Regions from separate parts of the Homo sapiens genome. Here all the other regions are linked to region 3. Evidence: promoter capture Hi-C in 16 types of primary human blood cells and fetal thymus (Javierre and others, 2016). All regions are on one chromosome and are shown on one strand. Each heading gives the region's core, a stretch centred on a gene start or on the middle of the fragment in contact. The rest is flanking DNA. Distances are from core to core; before and after follow the strand shown. Region 1 overlaps PLCG2 (phospholipase C gamma 2). Region 2 holds the start of PLCG2 (phospholipase C gamma 2). Region 3 holds the start of CMIP (c-Maf inducing protein).

Region 1 (4,176 bases), core at 1,421-3,920, 350 kb after region 3:
ATCTCCAAAGGTGTTGGAGGCTACCGCAGGATCCTTTGTGTGACCACTGCATGGAGGAAGAGGAAGAGCAGAGGATGGCTCAGGAGGTTGGAGGTTTCTATGGGCCATACCTGAAGTGGATGTACCTGTTTCCTCCCACCTGCTTTTTTTTTTTCTCCCCAAGAGATGGGGTCTTGCTTATTGCCCAGGCTGGAGTACAGTGGTGTGATCACAGCTCACTGCAGCCTTGAACTCCTCGGATCAAGTGATCCTCCTGCTTTGGCCTCCCAAAGAGCTGGGATCACAGGCATGGGCCACTGTGCCCGGCCCCCTCCCACCTTCTATTGAACAGAATTTGGCATGTGACCAAGTGCAAGGGATGCTGGGAAACATGCCCTAGCCGCATGCTAGAAGAACAGGGCCTAAGTTGGGGGGCATCCTTCCAGGCTTTTCTGTAACCCCTAATTTTGGAGGGTACAGAGGCAGCTCTAGGTGCCCCAGTGAAGGCTGATAAGCAGGTTGATGGTAAGGGTTTGGGAGTCTTGTAGGAATCCAGGAGAATGAACAGTCTCATCGCTGGGCTGCATGGAAAGGGAAGTGGTGAGCCACTGGCACTGAGGACTTTCCTGTCTGTAACTAGAGCTGCTGATGGTGATGTCTCTTAGACAGCCTCATCTGCCCTCTTGGGTTTCTCTCACAGATGTGGCCCTCCCCTCCCCAGCACAGACTGTCTCCAAACCTTGGCTTTTTCTGTTGCTGCCACATCAGTGACAGCTTTGGTTTTGCAACCTCCCAAGGATGGACCCCTGAGAGAGAGGCCTCCTATGGGCCATGCCTTTTAAAGCCAGCACACATGAGCAGGCTGCTTTGGAGATCAGTATCCTTTGGCACGGCCAGCCTTTCCTGGGCATAGGGGTGGATTGGAGGTGGTCTCCTGTAAGAGGACATCGTCTGGCTCCCGGGCTGTGGGCAGTGGTGGGTGCCTGTTACGGATTGAATTGTCCTTACCAATTTCATATGTCAAGGTCCTAATCCCCATACTCAGAATGTGATCTTATTTGGAAAGAGGGTCTTTGCAGATGTAATTAGTTGAGATGAAATCATAATGGAATAGAGTGGGCCCTAATCCAATATGACTGGTTTCCTTATGAGAAGAGGAGAGAGAGACACAGGGAGAGAAGGCCATGTGAAGACAGATACAGAAATCTGAGTCATGCATCTGCAAGCTAAGGAACACCAGGGGTGCTCCCTCAGGAGGAACCAGCCTCGCCAACACTTTGATTTTGGACTTCTGGTCTCCAGAACTGTGAGACAAACTTCTGTTGTTTCGGCCATCCAATTTTTGGTATTTCATGAGTGGCAGGCCTAACACACAAATACACTCTCATGTAACAGGGGCCTGAGGGCAACGGGGTGAGTACAGGGATTGACCTACCCATTCAGCCACTGATACTATGGATGGGTTGTGGTTTGTCATAACGGAATTTAAGAGGCGTTGCTTTCTTCCACGTGTCATGTTATTTTCTAGCTGCGTTGGTTCTGGCCTGGGCCCTGAGGGTGTAAGAGGGAATACAGTGTAGTGGGTAAACGAGGGAGGCAGCATTTGTCCCTCAAAATAGCACCAAGTTCTGGGAATGCAGGTATATTTGGAGTTCCTGACAAGTCAGTGCAGGTCCAACGTCTTAGGGATTGTGCTGAGTTGGGGGAGGGATCTAGTTAAAGATGTCCCTTGGTGAATCATTTTTGAAAAAAAAAAAATTATCTCCACTACCTGTCCCCTAGTCTGTCTTAGATATAAATGCGGGTTTTTGTATATCAGGCTCGCAAAATTATGTGTCTTGATTTGTCTTGGGAGAGATTTAGGTGCTGTGCAGTTTGGGGTTGAAATCAGAAATCCTGGGGTTGACTTTTCCTGCTTTCATGCAAGGCCCGATCTTGGGGCCAGGCCTTCGGTAGTCCTGACCCACAGACTAAGAGTGCTGGGAGGCCAGGGACCCTGTCTGTTCTGTTCATAAGGGGGACTTCCCAGCACCTGGCCCATATCTGGCCTGTGGCTGGTGCTCCTCAGATACCTGGTTAACAGATGAATCAGGAAAAGGCCCTGGCTGCCCCTTTCAGCCTCGGACTTCCGGTTTCTTCCTAACCATGGCAGCAGTATCTGGGGTTGAGATAGGGCACCTCTGTGACAACTTCCTCTTTAACCATACACCGTGGTTCCACTCGTGGTCCTGGCACTTAGTGACTGTGTGACCTTAGGCAATCTACTTGGCCTCTTTGAGTCTCAGTTTTCTTTTTTCTTGTCTTTTTTTTTTTTGAGATGGAGTCTCACTCTGTCCCCAGGCTGAAGTGCAGCGGCACAATTTCAGTTCACTGCAACCTCTGCCTCCCGGGTTCAAGCAATTATTCTGCCTCAGCCTCCTGAGTAGCTGGGATTACAGGTACCCTCCACCTCACCTGGCTAATTTTTGTATTTTTAGTAGAGATGGGGTTCCACCATGTTGACCAGGCTGGCCTTGAACTTCTGACCTCAAGTGATCTGCCTGCATTGGCCTCCCAAAGTGTTGGGATTACAGGTGTGAGTCACCGCGCCTGGCCTGAGTCTCAGTTTTCTTATCTATAAGATGGGGTAATAGTGGAGCTTACCCCATCAGATCACTGGGAGGATTCAGTTTGTAAGTGATTGTCACAAGTCCAGTATGTACTTAACACAGGGTGCCTCCCAGCCATGCTGCCATATGTCTCCTCAGGCAGCAGGTGCCTGCATTTGTGTTTGCGTGGGGGACATGGGACAGGCTGAGACATAGCTCGCATGTGTAGGGGGTGTCCTCCTCCTGCTCTTCTGTAGCACACAGCTAGGGGTCCTCTGGGGTTAAGTGCTCTTGGACCTGAGCCTGGATATAAAAGCAGCCCAGTGCTTCTGGGAGGCTGGGGAGGCCTGGGCTTGGAGAAGGAGCGTCGACAGGGTGAAGGTGAAGTTCTGGAAATAGAAACAGTGATGATACCACATCACAGCCTGGGGGCCACTCCACTGTCACAGGGCTGTTGGGAAGAAGCTGTAAGGTGCTGCTTTCATCTATACAAGTTGTGCTGGAGGCCAGGGGTAGGCGTGAGTTTTGGGAGGTGAAGTATCTGTGTGTGTGAAGGATTCTGTTTTGAGAAAGAAGGAAATGGGAACTTACTAATTTGTAGAATGGAAACTAGCAAAATTAGGCAAGGCATGGTGAGAGCATGTGCAGCAGGAAGAGGAGACCCCGCAGAGCTCAGAAGAGGTGGAGGAGGGGCTGGCCTCCCCGGCCTCAGGACTTCAGGGATCCCACTGCGTCTTCTCTGCTCCTGCTTCGGCTGGATTTCACCGGCCAGGTGTCTCTCTCCCCAGCACTACCAGCCACTCCAGGATGTCCCTGGCCTGCCACCAGCCTCCACCAGTGGGAAAAGCCCCTACACCAGGTAGTAGCATGACTGAAGGAGGGCCCGTGTCCCTGGGGAGGCAAGAAGGGCCCAAGCCCAGCGTGGCGCAGAGTGAACGTTACGCCAGTTTCCTGTTTAGACAGCTCTGAGCTGCTTCCCTCTGGCCTTGCATATTTCTCCTAATTAAAACAACTGCTTTTTCCCCCTCATTATAGAAGTACTATGTGTTCATTGGTAGACACATTTTAACCTACTTCTGGGTGAGAAAAACAACCCCTTAGCCCCCGCCACCCCCCTACCCAGAGAGATGGTGTTAACACCTGGTGTACCACCTTCCAAATCTTTTTGTCCAACAAAACTTTATTCACAAGACATTTTCACAACATGCGACCCTTTTGTAATGTACTTTAGTAATCTGCCTTTTTCATTTTGTACTACTTTGTGACCATGTTAGTATTATTAACTAATTTATTTTAGTTAATGAATTAATTAATTTTTTGAGGCAGGGTCTTGCTCTGTCACCCAGGTTGGTGTGCAGTGGTGTGACCATAGGTCACTGTAGCCTTGAACTCCTGGCCTCAAGAGATCCTCCCATCTTGGCCTCCCAAAGTGCTGGGATTACAGGTGCAAGCCACTGAGCCTGGCCTGTTATTAATTTTTTTTTTTTTTTTTTGAGACAGAGTCTCGCTCTATTGCCCAGGTGCAATGGCACCATCTTGGCTCACTGCAAGCTCCGCCTCCCAGGTTCACACCATTCTCCTGCCTCAACCTCCCGAGTAGCTGGGACTA
Region 2 (4,674 bases), core at 627-3,126, 330 kb after region 3:
AAATAAATACAAGCTGAAGTTCTAAAAAAAAAAAAAAAAAAAAAGTGAGGCAAAGGAATTGCCCCTAGATGTAGTCATTTTTCCTGGGGAATTGGCCCAATGACTTCAAGTGGTTGATGTCATAATGAGTCCTTCCAAGATCTCTTTAAAAAATTGATGTGTTAAGTGATCTGTGGTGATGAGCACAGCTATACACGCCAGTTGGGAGTGCTGAAAGAAATGAATCCACAGATCTTGTGAAGTCACAAACGAGTCCTATGGCTTGGGATACAACATTGACAGTGAGAGTGATATTCCTCAATTAAAAAACGCTATAACAGGCCGGGTGCAGTGGCTCATGCCTGTAATCCCAGCACTTTGGGAGGCCAAGGTGGGTGGATCACTTGAGGTCAGGAGTTTGAGACCAATCTGGCCAACATAGTGAAACCGCGTCTCTAGTAAAAATACAAAAAATTAGCCAAGCATGATGGCATACACCTATAATCCCAGCTACTCAGGAGGCTGAGGCAGGAGAATCGCTTAAACCTGGGAGGTGGAGGTTGCAGTGAGCCGAGATCGTGCCACTGCACTCCAGCCTGGGCAAGAGAGCAAGACTTTGTCTCAAAAAAAAAAAAAAACAAAAAAAAAACAAAAAAAAAAACAAAAAAAACCAAAAACACACACACACAAAAAAAACGCTATAACAGACCAGTGGCACATGCCTGTGATCCCAGTGCTTTGGGAGGTAGAGGCAGGAGGATTGCTTGAGGTCAGGAGTTCAAGAACAGCCTGGGACACATAGTGAGACCTCATGTCGAAAAAAGAGAAAATTAGCCAAGTGTGGTGTGCCTCTATAGTCCCAGCTCTTCAGGAGGCAGAAGCAGGAGGATCGCTTGAGTCCCGGAGTTCGAGGATGTGGTGAGCTATGATGGCACCACTGCACTCCAGCCTGGGTGACAGAGTGAGACCCTGCCTCTTAGAAAACAGAAGCTATAACTCAAGCAACTTGGAAGTGAAATTCAAGTGCCTGACAGCTGTCTAGGTGCCCCTGAAACTGCCTCTAGTCACAACAAAGATACCTCCATCAAAGAGCATAGGAAGGGTTTGAATCAGATAGCTTCATGCAACACACGAACGGAAAAATAAATTTCTTAAAGAACATATTAGCTTCTTCCCATGAGATCAGGAAAACGGGACATCAATTGTCTGGGGTTCTTTGCTCCTGACTCCCTTTGGGGCTGGCACTATGTTGATCACGTTTTACAGATGGGGAAACTGAGGCTGTCGGTTTTTAAGTGGTCTGCCTAAGGTAGCAGTAAGGGTTGGTCTGACTCCAGCGCAGCCTCAACGAGGGCTTCAAATTAGGGCCATGAATTGGCAATTCCTGGCGGGTAATTGTGAAGAGTATATTTATTTTTAATTTTTATTTATTTATTTTTGAGACGGAGTGTCTCTCGGCCACACCCATCCTAGCTCATTGCTGTCTCGAACTCTCGAGCTCAGACGATCCTCCCGTCTAGGCTTCCCAAAGAGCTGGGATGACAGGCGTGAGCCCGGGCGCCCGGCCGGGAGTGTGTTAAGTATACGGCAAACACCTGGACTGCGGCCGGCTCTCCAGGAATGCCATGATATTGGGGAATTCCCTTTGCACCTGGCCAAGTGGCCTCGGGCAGGTAGCCTCCCCTCGGGTTGCCTCAGTTTCTTCTTTGGCACGCAGAGGCGGGGCTCCAGGCCTGGGCCGCTCCATGGCGGGGAGGGCGCGGGGACGCTGCACTCGGGGTGCGCTCCGAGAGGCGGACCCGGCTGGGCGCGCCTGGGGCGGGGCGAGGCGGGGCGAGGCTGGGCGGTGCGGGGGGCGGCCCCCGAGGATCACGTGGCGCGGCGCCGCGGCCGAAGCAGAAGTAGCGAGCGCCGGCGGCGGAGGGCGTGAGCGGCGCTGAGTGACCCGAGTCGGGACGCGGGCTGCGCGCGCGGGACCCCGGAGCCCAAACCCGGGGCAGGCGGGCAGCTGTGCCCGGGCGGCACGGCCAGGTGAGCTGCCCGGCCGGGAGCGAGGCAGGCAGGGCGCCCAGGGACCTGCGCCCCGCGGGGACCGGCTCCCAGGGCGCTGCGTCCGAGGGGGTCTGCGTCCTGGCTCAGCCGGAGCGGGCAGGGACGGGGCGCACCCTCGGGGACCCCGGCCCGCCGTGCCCGGGGTCCGTTTGGTGACGGCAGGGATCCTGGCCCAGCCGCTGGCCACTTCCTCACCCCGGGCCGGCGCCACCTCTCCGGTCCGTGCGGTGGGGCGGCCCCAGCTTTGAATGGGGACCGGGAGGAAGGTCAGGGGTCGTGTGGGGGCTGGCGTTCAAAACTCCTCTTTTCGAGCGGCTCTGCGTGGGGTGGCGCCGTCTCTCTTGACGGCCCTTGTGCCCAGAGCTCGCGGACGCTCGGAGCCACACTTCCCTGTCTCACTTCGGTGGTTGCGGGTGGCGGGTGGGAGCGATACCGCGGGAGGCGCAGTCCTTCCCGGAGACTTTTGGAGAGCTTGCAGGACACTCGCGATGCCCGCTCCGCAGCTGTCTGCGTAATTATGCGTGTGTCTGTGCGTGTTGTGTTTTGTTGTGTTTTGGAATCCCAAAGAGGGCATTACCCGCACAGCGCAAGAGTTCAGGTTAAAGACGTGCCCCGTTTGGACGGGGAGCTCCTGGATTCCAGCAGGACGGTGGGGCGGGGCTCTCTTGGTACCCTAATCTTGAACTAGGGTGAGAAACTATGGGGGGCGGGGTGGTAAAGGGGTGACATGGCGCGAGGGAAACAGGTGGCCTTGCCCGTCGGAACTTAATTTGAATTTCAGTTCCATCAGTGGGACCCTGGGCAAGTTGAAGAACCTTTTTGAGTCTGTTTCCCCCTCTGGATACTGGAGCCACCCAATTTTCCAGGGCTGTGTCGAGAATTGGGGCTTATTGCTGTTCCACGAGGTTCGCTGAGAATCGGGGCGCATCCATGGAGAGTCCTTGGGCAGTTCCTGACTCTCTGGTTCAAGGGCATTCTCTGGGGCATGGGCCCTCGTCCTTGACTACAGTTCTGCGGGGAAGTTTTACAGAATTTTGAAGTCTATGCCAGCCTCAAGCAGTTTCTCTTGCAAAGGTGTGTGTGCAGTCACGTGTATACCAGCTCAGGGACAATCGTCATTGTGAGCCTCACTGATGTTTAAGTCACCTAATGATGCAGCTGCCTTCCCCCACCAGCGACTGGAGTATGGGCAGTTCCTCTGGAAGTGGAAAAGCACAGACCCCATGAATAGCCCTTTTGCACTCATTGGGTAGAGTCAATGAAAAGCTGCTGGTGAGAAAACTTTTGAAAACATTTCTTGGTCAGGCACGGTGGCTCACACCTGTAATCCCAGCACTTTGGGAGGCCGAGCTGGGCTGATCACTTGAGGTCAAGCGTTCCAGACCAGCCTCACCAACATGGTGAAACCCCATCTCTACTAAAACTACAAAAATTACCTGGGCGTGGTGGTGGCCGCCTGTAATCCCAGCTACCCAGGAGGCTGAGGCAGGAGAATCACTTGAACCCAGGAGGTGGAGGTTGCAGTGAACCCAGATCATGCCACTGCACTCCAGCCTGGGTGACAAGAGAGACTCCATCTCAAGACAAACAAACAAACAAACAAACACACACAAACACTTCTTAATTTAGAAAACAGCAAGAACACAAAGAGAAAAATTTGCCCGTTACATCATCAGTTAATATAAATAAAGTCAAGTTGTATCCTCTACCCTCTCCCAGCCTCCGATAAATAGTAACCACTCTCCTGGATTTACCAGAAGATCACCTTTATAAAAAGGGAATTGTATTATACTCATACAGTTGCAACTATTGTCTGAAGCTATTTTTTTATTGACCTCACAAATCTTTCCAGATCAAATTGCTTATCTATCATCCTCATTCTTTCTGATGGCTACTGAGCGTTCTTCAGTGCATGTGCACCATTATTTATCCAGGAGGCCCCCCACATTGATGAGCAGTTGTTTTCTGTTTTTTTTTCTTTTTTTGTATTTCTATTGCAACTATTGCTTCCGTGATTTTCTGTCGTACATATTGCATCTTTGTGCATGTCTTTCTTTACATGTACAATTGCAGGATCGAAGCATATGCGTGTTTTGCTTTTTAGTAGCTGCTCACAGGTTGCCCTAAAGGAGCAGGGGTGGAATTTACACTCTCACTTGCAGTGGCTGACACCATTCCTTTGAAAATAGTGTATTCCCTCTAATGCTGCAGGGTGGGTGTAAGGTGCAGCAGTAATGTCCCTTGAACTGTTGGAGGGGCCCTTACCACTCAAGTATTTGCCTGTGCTCCATTTTAACACAATTGTCTTGTGGGATTTTTGGATGAAATCCTGTACTGGCTTACCATGCACAGAGCACTGAAGAGACAAAAACTTCCTTGATTTCTGGTTTTGGGTCCTCGCATCTCATTTCATGTCCTTTCCCCCCCCCCCCCCGCCCGCCCCCGAGACGGAGTCTTGCTCTGTCGCCCAGGCTGGAGTGCAGTGGCGCGATCTCGGCTCACTGCAAGCTCCGCCTCCCGGGTTCACGCCTTTCTCCTGCCTCAGCCTCACGAGTAGCTGGGATTACAGGCATGTGCCACCACACCCGGCTAATTGTTTTGTATTTTTTTTTAGTAGAGACGGGGTTTCATCGTGTTAGCCAG
Region 3 (4,079 bases), core at 1,504-4,003:
TTGAATTCAATACTTTCTTCCTGAATGCCTGCTCAGGACAACATTACAAAGACAGACATTTGTAATGTCCTCCTAAATTCCCAGAGGAGTGGGAAGCACATGGAATTTGAGGTCGAACAGAATCTGAGGTTCAAACCTCGGCTGGATCCTGATAGTTGTCTGACCCTGTCTGAGCCTCAACTTCCTCACTTAAGATGGGGATGGTAATAGTTCCTACCTCCTAGGCTGGTGGGGAGGAATAAACGAGAACAAATACATAAGGCCTCCAGCATGGTATCTGGTGCTTGGGTACCGGTCATTATTATCACGGTATGTCCTACTTAATGTTTACAAATCAACCACTGTACTGGGCTGCATGGAGGATGTCTGGAATGGTCCTGGAATATATCAGGGATTTGCATCCTGCTAAATCTCCTCCTTCTACTGGAGTTTTGTGCCCTGTATGGGTAGGGGCGTGTCCACAGATGTCCCCGAAGTGGACAGCAGCTGCTTTGCTTGCCACTGGGCCACTCCACCCAGTGACTTTGTGCTAGCCCTTGTTGCTTCCTTCTGTGGGGGGTAGGTGAGCATGAAAGTCTCCTCACTGGCCTCCTTGCCTCTAGGTTTCTCCTCTGCAATGCTCATCTGTGCCACACTGCAGCCTTTTGAAGAAGCCATGTACAAGTCACTCCTTTGCATGGCCCATGTGGTGTCTCCCCACTGCTCTAGTCCCTGGGTTTGCATTTCAGGGTGCTGCTTGCTCACCGCCTACATCTCTGCTCCACCTCCTCCAGGGACCTTGCACCCCATGGCAAGTGAGTTCAGTTTCCTGAACAAGCTGAGCATCCTCCCATCTCTTTGCCTTGGTAGGAGCCAGTTCGTCTTCTTGGAGCACCTATCCCCTTCTTTACTTGATTCCTAAAGAACTCTTAGAGTACCCTGGTCCCCCACACTGGGTTAGACATCCCCCTTTCTGTTCCTGGAGCACCAAGCACAATGTCTGTTACTGTTCTGGACTCTGACCTCCATGCTTTGTGGTTGAGGATGAGGACAGCACCTATGTCATAGGGTGTGAGAAGAGAATGATGTGTGCGTACAAAATTCTTAGCACATAGGAAGCCTCTGGCCACTGTGGTTATTATAGTCATTACCATTAATACCCTAGTGCCTGGCCTGTGACCAGCATACAGCAGGAGCTCAATGAAAATATTTGAACAAAGGATCTAATCCCACCCGCTTAATGGACTGGGGGGTTTCTTGGCCCCAACCACCCCCCAACACCCACATATCTAGGGCTTGCCCCTTCATGCTTGGTGGTTTTCTCAAGGCTGTTCAAGCTCAAAACTGGAAGGAAATGGCAGCAAATTGTGGGGAGCTAAGGAATTTCTAACTTTCTAATCTAATTGTGCCTCCCCAAGGAGGCATCTCCTGGGCAGGCTGGATGTGAGTCTTCTTTCCTTGGTGAGGGATGCAGCCTGGGACCTGCCTTTCATCCCCTGCCTGAAACCCTGGCCAGGCTCGGGGAGAGGGTCCTCTGGGGAGCACCTTCATGCTGCCTGTTCTTGGGAGAGGGGGGGTGAATAATTTCCACCAACGGCACAGATGCTGTGGATATTCCGCAGTGTTCACGACGCAGTTCAACACACGCTGCACACATTCATGTGTTCACTACAGAGGCGCCTTCACTTAAAAAGGCAAAAATCTAGGGTTTTAACGTTATTAGCTGCAGGAGCACGTGGAGATAAGAAAACCTGGCTGAGGAGCTGAGCATTTGCTAGGTGGCCTTAGGTGCCGGCTGCTTGTGATGGCAGAAAGGGAGCTTTTTGCATCCAGGCTGCAGTTCCTGATACCCTGGGTCACAAGAGAATCGAATATGGTTCTCTCGTGGGCTGGTGCTGGGCCTGTGAACTCAGATAAAATGACCAGGTGGGGTCCCAGGGAAGGTGAAGTAGGGGGAGCTGCTGGGGTGCGCACAAGAGGGGTGGCTGTGTAGGTTGGGGGGTGCTTTAAGTGGGTTCCTAGAAGAGGCTCTGTCTCCCTGGGCAGAAGAAAGAAGGGGGATGGGCGGACCGTCCCCTCTCTCCAGAAGGTTTGAGGACCCCCAAGGCCAAAGCCAGCAGACGTCAAAGGCCAGGAGTTCGAGGCCGGCTGGGTCCCGCAGTGGGAGACAGGGCAGGGTGGGCTCATCCTCCGGATCACCGCGGGGACACTTTCAGTCGGGAAGGCGTCCCCGTCCCACGGCCCCATCTGGCCAGCCCGCTGGACAGCCTGGACAGCGGAGGGGGCGTCAGGGGTCGAGGGTTCCAGTCCCCGTCCTTCCACCCAGCCCCCGGCCCTCGGGTATCCTTCTTTACCCGTCCGAGTCCGGCCCGGGGGCGGCGGGGGTGGGTGAGGCGCGGGCCCCCAGGCTCCGGCAGCCTGGCTGGGCTCCCGCCCGGGCACCCGCGGGGGCGCGGCTGGCGTGACGTCACGCGCCCCGCCCCCGCGCCCCGCCCCCTCCCCACATTCCAGGCGGGGCGGGCCGGGACCCCGCGGGGCTCGCCCGCCCCAGCCCCCTCCCCAGGGGCTGCCCCTCCCGTCGGGCCGCGCCTCCCCGTCGTGGGCCGCGACCCCGCCCGGACCGCGGACTCCGCCCGCGAGAGGCCGAAGCCGCCGCGGCCGCCGCCGTTGCCGCCATTGACGTCAGAGGGGCGGGCACATGACCCTGCGGGGACCAATCGCGCGGGCGCCCCGGGCTCCGGGAGCCCGGCGCGCGGCCCGCCCCGCCCGCGGCCACTCTCGCCCGGACGGCCGCGCGGACACACGCTCTGTACACACGCGCGCGGCGGCGCGGGGCCCCGAGACACGCCCGCCCCCACCCCGCCGCCCCCACCCCGGCGCCCGCCCTCCGCGCCTGGCCCCGGCCCGCCCTCGGCCTCCCCCGCCCCTCCCCGTCGCCCGCCGAGCCCGGTCAGCCGCCGCGAGCATGCACCCGACGAGCTAGGAGGAAGCCCGGAGCCCCGCAGGAAGCGCCGAGGCCGGCCCAGCCCGCCGCACGCGCCGCCCCCCGCGGGCAGCGCCCCCTCCCCTGCGGGCGCCCCCAGCCCCACACCCCCCCACCTTCCCGGGGGGTGGGGGGGTGCGGGCCGCCGGATCCGGGGGCCCCGCCGCCCCAGCAGCCCAGGACAGCCCCCTCTCCCCGCCCCCAGCCCCCTCCCCCGGCGCGGCCATGGATGTGACCAGCAGCTCGGGCGGCGGCGGCGACCCCCGGCAGATCGAGGAGACCAAGCCGCTGCTGGGGGGCGACGTGTCGGCCCCCGAAGGCACGAAGATGGGCGCCGTGCCCTGCCGCCGGGCTCTTCTGCTTTGCAACGGGATGAGGTACAAACTGCTGCAGGAGGGCGACATTCAGGTCTGTGTCATCCGGCACCCGCGGACCTTTCTCAGCAAGATCCTCACCTCGAAATTCCTGAGGCGCTGGGAGCCGCACCACCTAACGCTGGCCGACAACAGCCTGGCGTCCGCCACGGTGAGTGGCTCTGCGCGGCTGCACCCCCGCCTCTCCTCGGGGCCCGAGATGCGCCCTCCCTGGCTGCCCCCTGGCGCTGCACCTGGAGCCCAGGGCCTGGGGGGCGGTGGGGGGTGCCGGGGGAACGGGGAGAACCAGGGCGCCTCGCTCCTGGCCTGCTCGCGGGGCTCGATTTTGGAGTCTGAAGCCCAAACCAGCCGACCGGGCTCAGGAGAGACCCTTAAAATGCTGGAGACTCGGCCCACCGCCAGGCTGGGTGCCTGGGGACCTTCTGCCCCCAGCTCTTGTGTTTCTGGTGGCTGGGACTCGAGGATGGACCCGACGCTGGGCCCTGATGGTGGTGGGGGTTCTCTCTGGAAGCCCCTGGCCCATCTGGATCTGAGGGGTGGGGGAGGGGAAAACAAAATACCACCCCTCAGATTTAAAAAAAAAAACAAACAACACAACAAAACCTCCAAACCCCCAAACCCAAAGAATTTCCAGAAGCCAGTTTCTCTGTTTGGTTTACCCGTCCTTTATTCTCTTTCCTGCCAGGGCTGGCAGGCAGAACGGGGTGCTTCCCTTTCTGAAAATCTCATTCGCACATTGAGAG

What was found. Contacts are between HindIII fragments. The CHiCAGO score rates a contact against its expected background, and 5 or more counts as called.
Region 1: a fragment that was not itself captured here is called in contact with the fragment with the promoter of CMIP in region 3 in 3 of 17 cell types (naive B cells, total B cells and neutrophils); the score reaches 9.2 in naive B cells.
Region 2: a contact is called between the fragment with the promoter of PLCG2 here and the fragment with the promoter of CMIP in region 3, in 3 of 17 cell types (neutrophils, naive B cells and total B cells). The highest score is 12.3, in neutrophils.

The regions. Positions count from the first base shown.
Region 1 is chr16:81,795,557-81,799,732 of GRCh38, forward strand. The region is part of intron 2 of PLCG2 (phospholipase C gamma 2); the gene reads left to right. Among named protein-coding and RNA genes, the nearest start is that of PLCG2, 18 kb to the left of the region's middle. RefSeq lists enhancers at 2,089-2,138, 2,189-2,608, 2,879-3,488. The HindIII fragment of the contact is 5,626 bases long and covers 1-4,176 here.
Region 2 is chr16:81,777,415-81,782,088 of GRCh38, forward strand. It overlaps PLCG2 (phospholipase C gamma 2), which reads left to right and starts at 1,877. Exons shown (of 33, transcript NM_002661.5): 1 at 1,877-2,010. RefSeq lists silencers at 1,370-1,664, 1,693-1,962, 1,993-2,092, 2,103-2,182. The HindIII fragment of the contact is 8,410 bases long and covers 1-4,674 here.
Region 3 is chr16:81,442,055-81,446,133 of GRCh38, forward strand. CMIP (c-Maf inducing protein) reads left to right here and starts at 2,754. Exons shown (of 21, transcript NM_198390.3): 1 at 2,754-3,487. The coding sequence starts at 3,188. RefSeq lists an enhancer at 1,595-2,127 and silencers at 2,337-2,436, 2,547-2,896, 2,967-3,016, 3,447-3,746. The HindIII fragment of the contact is 9,361 bases long and covers 1-4,079 here.